2 separate regions of the Homo sapiens genome follow, and region 2 is linked to region 1. The links are contacts of gene promoters, found by promoter capture Hi-C in human tissues and cell types (Jung and others, 2019). All regions are on one chromosome and are shown on one strand. The core of a region is centred on a gene start or on the middle of the fragment in contact, and the rest is flanking DNA. Distances in the headings are between cores, read along the strand shown.

Evidence for each region. The method cuts DNA at HindIII sites, captures the fragments that hold promoters and counts their contacts. A contact is called where the count stands out against the background at its distance.
Region 2: a fragment that was not itself captured here is called in contact with the fragment with the promoter of MARS2 in region 1 in 1 of the 25 tissues and cell types used here (hippocampus).

What each region holds. Positions count from the first base shown.
Region 1 is chr2:197,703,251-197,707,069 of GRCh38, forward strand. It overlaps MARS2 (methionyl-tRNA synthetase 2, mitochondrial), which reads left to right and starts at 2,119. Exons shown (of 1, transcript NM_138395.4): 1 at 2,119-3,819. The coding sequence starts at 2,156. RefSeq lists a silencer at 1,933-2,172 and enhancers at 2,313-2,362, 2,403-2,522. The HindIII fragment of the contact is 12,008 bases long and covers 1-3,819 here.
Region 2 is chr2:197,187,394-197,191,073 of GRCh38, forward strand. The region is part of intron 1 of ANKRD44 (ankyrin repeat domain 44); the gene reads right to left. Among named protein-coding and RNA genes, the nearest start is that of ANKRD44-AS1, 8.8 kb to the right of the region's middle. RefSeq lists an enhancer at 1-346. The HindIII fragment of the contact is 4,059 bases long and covers 1-3,477 here.

The sequences.
Region 1 (3,819 bases), core at 869-3,368:
TTTATATGCTTGTTGGCCGCATGTCTATCTTCTTTTGAGAAGTGTCTGTTTATGTCCTTTGCCTTTTTAATGAGGTTTTTTGCTTATTGATTTTTAAAATTCCTTATAGATTCTGGATATTAGACCTTTCTTGGATTCATAGTTTGAAAATATTTTCTCCCATTCTGTAGATTGTCTGCTTACTCTGTTGATAGTTTATTTTGTGGTGCGGAAACTCTTTAATTAGGTCCCATTTGTCAATTTTTGTTTTTGTTGCAATTGCTTTTGGCATCCTCATGATGAAATCTTTGTCAGGTCCTATGTCCAGAATGGTATTTCCCAGGTTACCTTCTAAGGTTTTTAGTTTTAGGTTTTACATTTAAGTCTTTAATCCATTTTGAGTTGAGTTTTGTATATGGTATAGGAAGGGGGTCCTGTTTCATCTGTATATGGCTAGCTAGTTATCCAAGCACCATTTATTGAATAGGGAGTCTTTTGCCCATTGCTTGTTTTTATCAACTTTGTTGAAGACCAGATGGTTGTAGGTCATTCTTAAACTGCTGGATTAAATAAGAGCACATCAACTGAGTATCCAAAGTTATTTTTTATATCTCTTATACAGAATTCGATTGGTCCACCTTTCATCATATCACTAGAGAAATCAGATCCAAGTTACCATATGTGTTCAGTCAAAGGTTATTATACAGCAGTCAAAATGAATGAATTACATGCAACATGTATTAAGAACATATGAATGCAGTTACATGCAACAACATGGATTAATATAGCAACAAAATGTTGAATAAAAAGGCAAGTTGAAGACTACATGTAGTATTATATCCTTTTTAGAATATTTAAATGCAAGCAAAATTAAACAATGTTACTTAGACATACTTTGTATGTGATCACACAAATGTGCAAGAACAAAATTCAGGACAATGACTACCTCAGGGAGGACAGTACGAGAAGAAAAGGAGCACACAGATCTAAATCACTGGTAATTTTCTAGTTCAGTGTTTCTCAAACTTTAATGTGCATCAGAATCACCTTAAAATCTAAATTACTGGGCCCTACCCTCAGAGTTTTCTGGTTCAGTATGTGGGGGATGGGGCCTAAGAATATACATATCGAACGAAGTTCCAGGTGCTGCCAGTTCTGCTGCTCTGGGGACCACACTCTGAAACCACTTGTAGTTCTTAGATTGGGTTGTAGGTTCATAGCTGCTCCATTTTATTATTAAATGTATATGCTACTTAAATTAAATTAAAAAAAAAAGATCAAAGATGAGAGTGTGTTATGAACTAGGGATTAACATTAATTCAATTCTGGGCTCCTGAGGTTTCCTCCCCTAAAAAAAATTCTAAGGTTCCATTACTAAAAGCAAACTTGAGAAACACTATTTTAAAAGAACTTCAAGACCATTAAAAAAATTAACTTTTTGAGAAATAAATTTGAAAATTATTCTTTATATGCACAGTGACAGCATATTGCACTCTACTTTCCTGGATCTCAATAAACTTTGGCAAGAACTTGGCAGATCACAAATCTACTTTTGTTGATTCAACAAAAACTGTTTAAAGACTTCTCTTCCATTCTCAGTTCTTATCCTTCTCTCAAAATGCTGTAGGTAATGATTTTTCATCTTTTTTCTCTCTCCCTCCCTTACAGATTGATTTAGGCTCTGAGATAAAATTTAGGTGACATTTTAGATATCGACAGGGCATGTGCAGAGCAATACTCTGTCTTGCAGTATGCCAGCCACGGACGGGGTTTAGACAAACGGCTGAATATAAAACTCTTGCCTACAAGCAGCTCAGCCTAGAGGGGGAAACAGATTCATAAATATAAAATTACAATCCAAAGCAGGAAACACAGTATGTTATACGAAGGCAAAGAGGTTCGTCTTCTTTCATAGCCTCTCCTAAACCCGGCAACTCTGAGCTGTTTTTCTGGCAAGCCGCCGTCCATTGGCGGCCTCTGGCGCCGCGGCTTTCGGCGTGCGGACGGCGCAGGCGCGGGCGGGGCGGGGCCGGGCGGGGAGGGCGGTGAGGGCCGGCGCTCGGGGCCGCGTTTCATTGGCTTTCCGGCCGGAAGCTGCGGCGCGACCCGGCTGCGCATGCGCCTCTCACACGTGCTGTCAGAACGCCGCCTCCTCCGCTTGCGGCCGGTCTGCACCATGCTGCGAACGTCCGTCCTCCGCCTGCTAGGACGCACGGGGGCTAGTAGGCTGTCTCTCCTGGAGGACTTCGGCCCACGCTACTACAGTTCGGGCTCCCTCAGTGCCGGCGATGATGCTTGTGATGTGCGCGCCTACTTCACTACACCCATTTTCTACGTGAACGCGGCGCCGCACATCGGGCACCTGTACTCGGCACTACTGGCGGACGCCCTATGCCGCCACCGTCGCCTCCGAGGTCCCAGCACGGCCGCCACGCGATTCTCCACTGGTACCGACGAGCACGGGCTGAAGATTCAGCAGGCAGCAGCTACCGCGGGCCTGGCCCCGACCGAGCTGTGCGACCGAGTCTCTGAGCAGTTCCAGCAGCTTTTCCAGGAGGCCGGTATCTCCTGCACAGATTTCATCCGCACCACGGAGGCCCGGCACCGGGTGGCTGTGCAGCACTTCTGGGGGGTGCTTAAGTCCCGCGGTCTGCTCTACAAGGGCGTCTATGAAGGTTGGTATTGCGCTTCCGACGAGTGCTTCCTGCCTGAGGCCAAGGTCACCCAGCAGCCGGGCCCATCGGGGGATTCGTTTCCTGTATCTCTCGAGAGCGGGCATCCAGTCTCCTGGACCAAGGAAGAAAACTACATTTTCAGGCTTTCCCAGTTCCGGAAGCCACTCCAGCGGTGGCTGCGGGGCAACCCTCAGGCGATCACCCCCGAACCATTTCATCACGTAGTTCTTCAGTGGCTGGACGAGGAGCTGCCCGACCTGTCCGTGTCTCGCAGAAGTAGCCACTTGCACTGGGGCATTCCGGTGCCCGGGGATGATTCGCAGACCATCTATGTATGGCTGGATGCCCTGGTCAACTACCTCACTGTAATTGGCTACCCAAATGCTGAGTTCAAATCTTGGTGGCCGGCCACCTCTCATATCATAGGTAAGGACATTCTCAAATTCCATGCCATCTATTGGCCTGCCTTCCTGTTAGGGGCCGGCATGAGCCCGCCACAGCGCATCTGTGTCCATTCCCACTGGACAGTCTGTGGCCAAAAGATGTCCAAGAGCTTGGGCAACGTGGTGGATCCTAGGACTTGCCTTAACCGCTATACCGTGGATGGCTTCCGCTACTTTCTCCTTCGGCAGGGCGTCCCCAACTGGGACTGTGACTACTATGATGAAAAGGTGGTTAAGTTGCTGAACTCCGAGCTGGCAGATGCCTTGGGAGGTCTCTTGAACCGATGCACTGCCAAAAGAATAAATCCTTCTGAGACCTACCCAGCCTTCTGCACTACCTGCTTCCCTAGTGAGCCAGGGTTGGTGGGGCCGTCAGTTCGTGCTCAGGCAGAGGATTATGCTCTGGTGAGCGCAGTGGCCACTTTGCCAAAGCAGGTAGCAGACCACTATGATAACTTTCGGATATATAAGGCTCTGGAGGCCGTGTCCAGCTGTGTCCGGCAAACTAATGGTTTTGTCCAAAGGCATGCACCATGGAAGCTGAACTGGGAGAGCCCAGTGGATGCTCCCTGGCTGGGTACTGTGCTTCATGTGGCCTTGGAATGTTTGCGAGTCTTTGGGACTTTGCTGCAGCCTGTCACCCCAAGCCTAGCTGACAAGCTGCTGTCTAGGCTGGGGGTCTCTGCCTCAGAGAGGAGTCTTGGAGAGCTCTATTTCTTGCC
Region 2 (3,680 bases), core at 198-2,697, 520 kb before region 1:
AGGCCCTTAAATCCCTGACAAGGAAACTACTAAATCTGTGGTTTTGTGCATACAATCCCTGTTATGAATTGAATTGTATCCCCACCAACATTGATATGTTGCAAGCCCTAACCCCCAAAGCGACTGTATTTGGAGACAGGGCCTTTAAGGAGATAATTCAGATTAAAAGAGGTCGTAAGGGTGTGGCCCTGATCCAATAGGACCGGTGTCTTCATAAGAAGAGGAAGAGACACCAGAGCTCACGTTCTCATTCTCTCTCTCTCTCTCTCTCTCTCTCTCTCTCTCCCTCTTCTTCTCCCTCTCTCTCTTTCTTCTCTCTCACACAGGAGGAAAGGCCATGTGAAGACACAGTGAAAACGTGGCCGTTGGTAAGCCAGGAAGAGAGGCCTCACCAGAAACTAACCCTGATTTTGGACTTCCAACCTCCAGAACTGGGAGAACAAAAATTTCTGTTGCTTAAGCCATCCAGTCTATAGTATTTTGTTATGGCAGCCTGAGCAAACTAAGACAGTTCCCTATGATTCCTCTACTTCTTGTTAGACAATGTTCCTTGTTATCCTCAAATAATTCCATTCCTAGAGGATGCTAATGGCCATGTTTCTGGCCACCGGAACACTTTTGTGTCGGTATTTGGAAAACCCTTGAAATCATTCCCAAATGCCTCCCATAGCTTTAGCCAACAAGTACTGTCTTAAACATGATTACATCTACTGCTTATTAAAAGTAAGTGGCACGATGGCAGTTTAGGGAAGAAGAGGGGGGTGTTACCAAGCTCTTATTATTGAACTCATCTACATTAAACAAGACCCCAGCATGCAGTAGAAGGATCTATATAGTGTGATGGAAACACAACCAAAAGAACAGCTAGCTCCACTTGGGTAGGAGGCTGGGTGAAGACAAGGGTGTATCCAAAAAAGCTTAAGGAAGGCACCTTAATGAATAAATATGATTTGCTGACAGGGAAGGAAGACAGAGGAGGTACAGGTGTGCAAAGGTGTGGATGTGCAAAGAACCTGATATGTTACTGACCAGAGTGTGGGGTAAAAGAGGAACAGTGGCAGGCTTTAGGGTTGATGTTGGGCTTGCCTGCATGGCAAAAAATGCTATTCAAAGCCAGTCTCACACTTGCTAGCCACATGCAAAGCCCATTTCTACATGCAACTTGGGGGTGAGCATGATCATCGCTGCCTAACCTCCTCATGGGATTGTTATTAGGATCAAATGAGGTAGTACATGAGAAAATGTCCTCTAACCAGACAACCCTACATAGATGTTTTCATTAAGAAATGTTTCACGATGACAAGATGGAGTAGTTGATAATTTTCTTTTAACCTTAAGATCCTTGGTAATTATGCACACACACACATTCACCCAAAATTCTAGAAATATCTTAGTCCTAGTAGTCGATTAGATGACAGCAGTTTCCCCAATGTGTCTGACCATAAGAATCACCGGAGATGCCTATTAAAAAAAATAGTCCCAGATCCCTTTCCTAAGGATATAATACATTCAGGGTGGGGACCTGCAAATCTAGATTTTAACAAGTACCTATCAATTCTTAGGAACTGGTGGCAAGCACTGGCCTCAGGTGAAATCACTAGTGTCACATACCTTGACCTCACCCTGTGATCTGCTGTTGGGAATGTGAGTTGTCATTTTCCCTATAAACCCTCTTTTCTCTTTTTATCCTCCTGTTGGCTTTCTTACAGGTTATGTTGCTGTTTATTGCTAGTTTGGGGGACCAATATAAGTACTATCAGTAAGACAGAGTAAGATTCCTTGAGGAAACACTATGTAAAAATGTCAAGGTGCAGAATGGATATTTCAATATGCCAGGAATTTGTCCATGGGTTTCTCCTCTGCCATAAAAATTCCCAGCAAATGAACATATATCTCTTTTTCTTTCTCGAAAACACCCTCTCAATTCTGCTTCTTGACAAGGTGTATGGATAGTTTCTGAAATTGCCAACAATTAAGTAGCAGGAAAGAAGTCTTGAAAAGAATACAAGTTTACTGCTAGTTCAGTCTTAGCTACTTACTCTGCTTAAAGACAGGCAGATCCTTCCACACTCCCCCTAACTACCTGCTAACCAAGTCTCCGTTCGGGTTACATCTGCCCCGTGGCAAGGACCACATTTCACACAAGACACAGAGCCAGACACAAATTCAGGGTTTCGACAAAAAAAAATATTGAATCTTGTTTATCTGCTCCATAATTCTCCATCTGCTGTGCTCATGGCCAAATGCTCATGTGTGCATTTCTGCCTTTTTGGACCTTAAAAGAAAACAAGCAACAAACCTCCACAACCAGAGAACGATAAGTAGAGGCAGTGTCTGACAAGATTTTCATGTTAAATCAGGAGTAGTCAATCAACAGCTGAACAGTTAAGATTCCGGGGAACAAACCCAACACAGTAGTTAATGCACCACTACTTAGTCACTTTAAGGGAACATAATGAGGTGAGCAGAGTCTCCCAGTTGCGAGTGTACGGAATACATACATTCTGTTGCATTCACTCCGTCCTCACACTTCTGAAGAAAGGCAAGCATTCCAAGCTATGGCTGGAATGTTACCAAGGAGAGGCATCCCAAAAAAGCTTCCAGAGAAGGGCGCCAGCACAGTCCTCAGCAGGGAGTGGTGCCTCTGGGACTAATGCTGCTAAAAGCTACTTTATAGAGAATTGTCAAGGCACAGAATCCCCAGGAGCCATTAGGAAGAAGAGGCTGAGCTATCATTATAACTCTTCCAATACTGAAGTCACATATATGCATACATATGCACCTAGGTACATATGCATACCTATCTACACTCAGGCATGCATGCATAGAGACACATGTTGAGTCATACACAAACCCCTTCTACTTCCCGTGGAATAAAAAAGCAGCTGTTCTCCACATCCCAAAGCCTTGCTATATGGACATCTCTAGCTCAACTGTGCCATGTGGCTACTGAGACATCGCCTTCACAATTATGAATTTAAGCATCATGGGATTTCAAACTAGAACTTCACAGATAACGTGCTTTGCTTCAACTGAAGCTGTGTGTTTGTATGGATATAATTACTGAATGGAATGCATAATGATTCTTGAGCAAGTAATATTTATTTTTTAAATATTATGACTGCTTCTTCTTTTTTTCTCTCCACACTCCCAAAAACATTCCCAGAGAGCACTTTGGCACTCCTTTTTGTTGGAATTTTAATGAGATCCTGCTGTTTTATTTTTCCCCAGGTAAACACTTAACCTAAGAAAAAATATTGGGGAAAAGATATATCTAAATACTATATTATATGATGTTTAAGGCAAAGAATATTCTAATTACAATATTCTTGCTCATAAGTATTAAGGACATATATTCTGTTGTTCATTAATTTGGCAACCATCATAACTTTTGCAGCTTTTGTCTTAACTTAAATAAGGCTTAGAAGCAAAGTCCTACCTGCACAAGAGCAGAGTCCCAAGCCTTGGCATATACAGATATTTCTTTTTAAAGTTTCACACATTTTAGCACTAGCATATATAACACGAGTGCTTTGTGTACAGTAGGGTACAGAGTTGAATAAATACAAAATTGTAACAAGGGTCAAAATTGAGAAAAACAAATAGTGGTAGGAAAAAAGGAGATTCAGATACCATGAAATCATTGATCATCATCCCCTAAAGAAATTTAAATTCCTAAG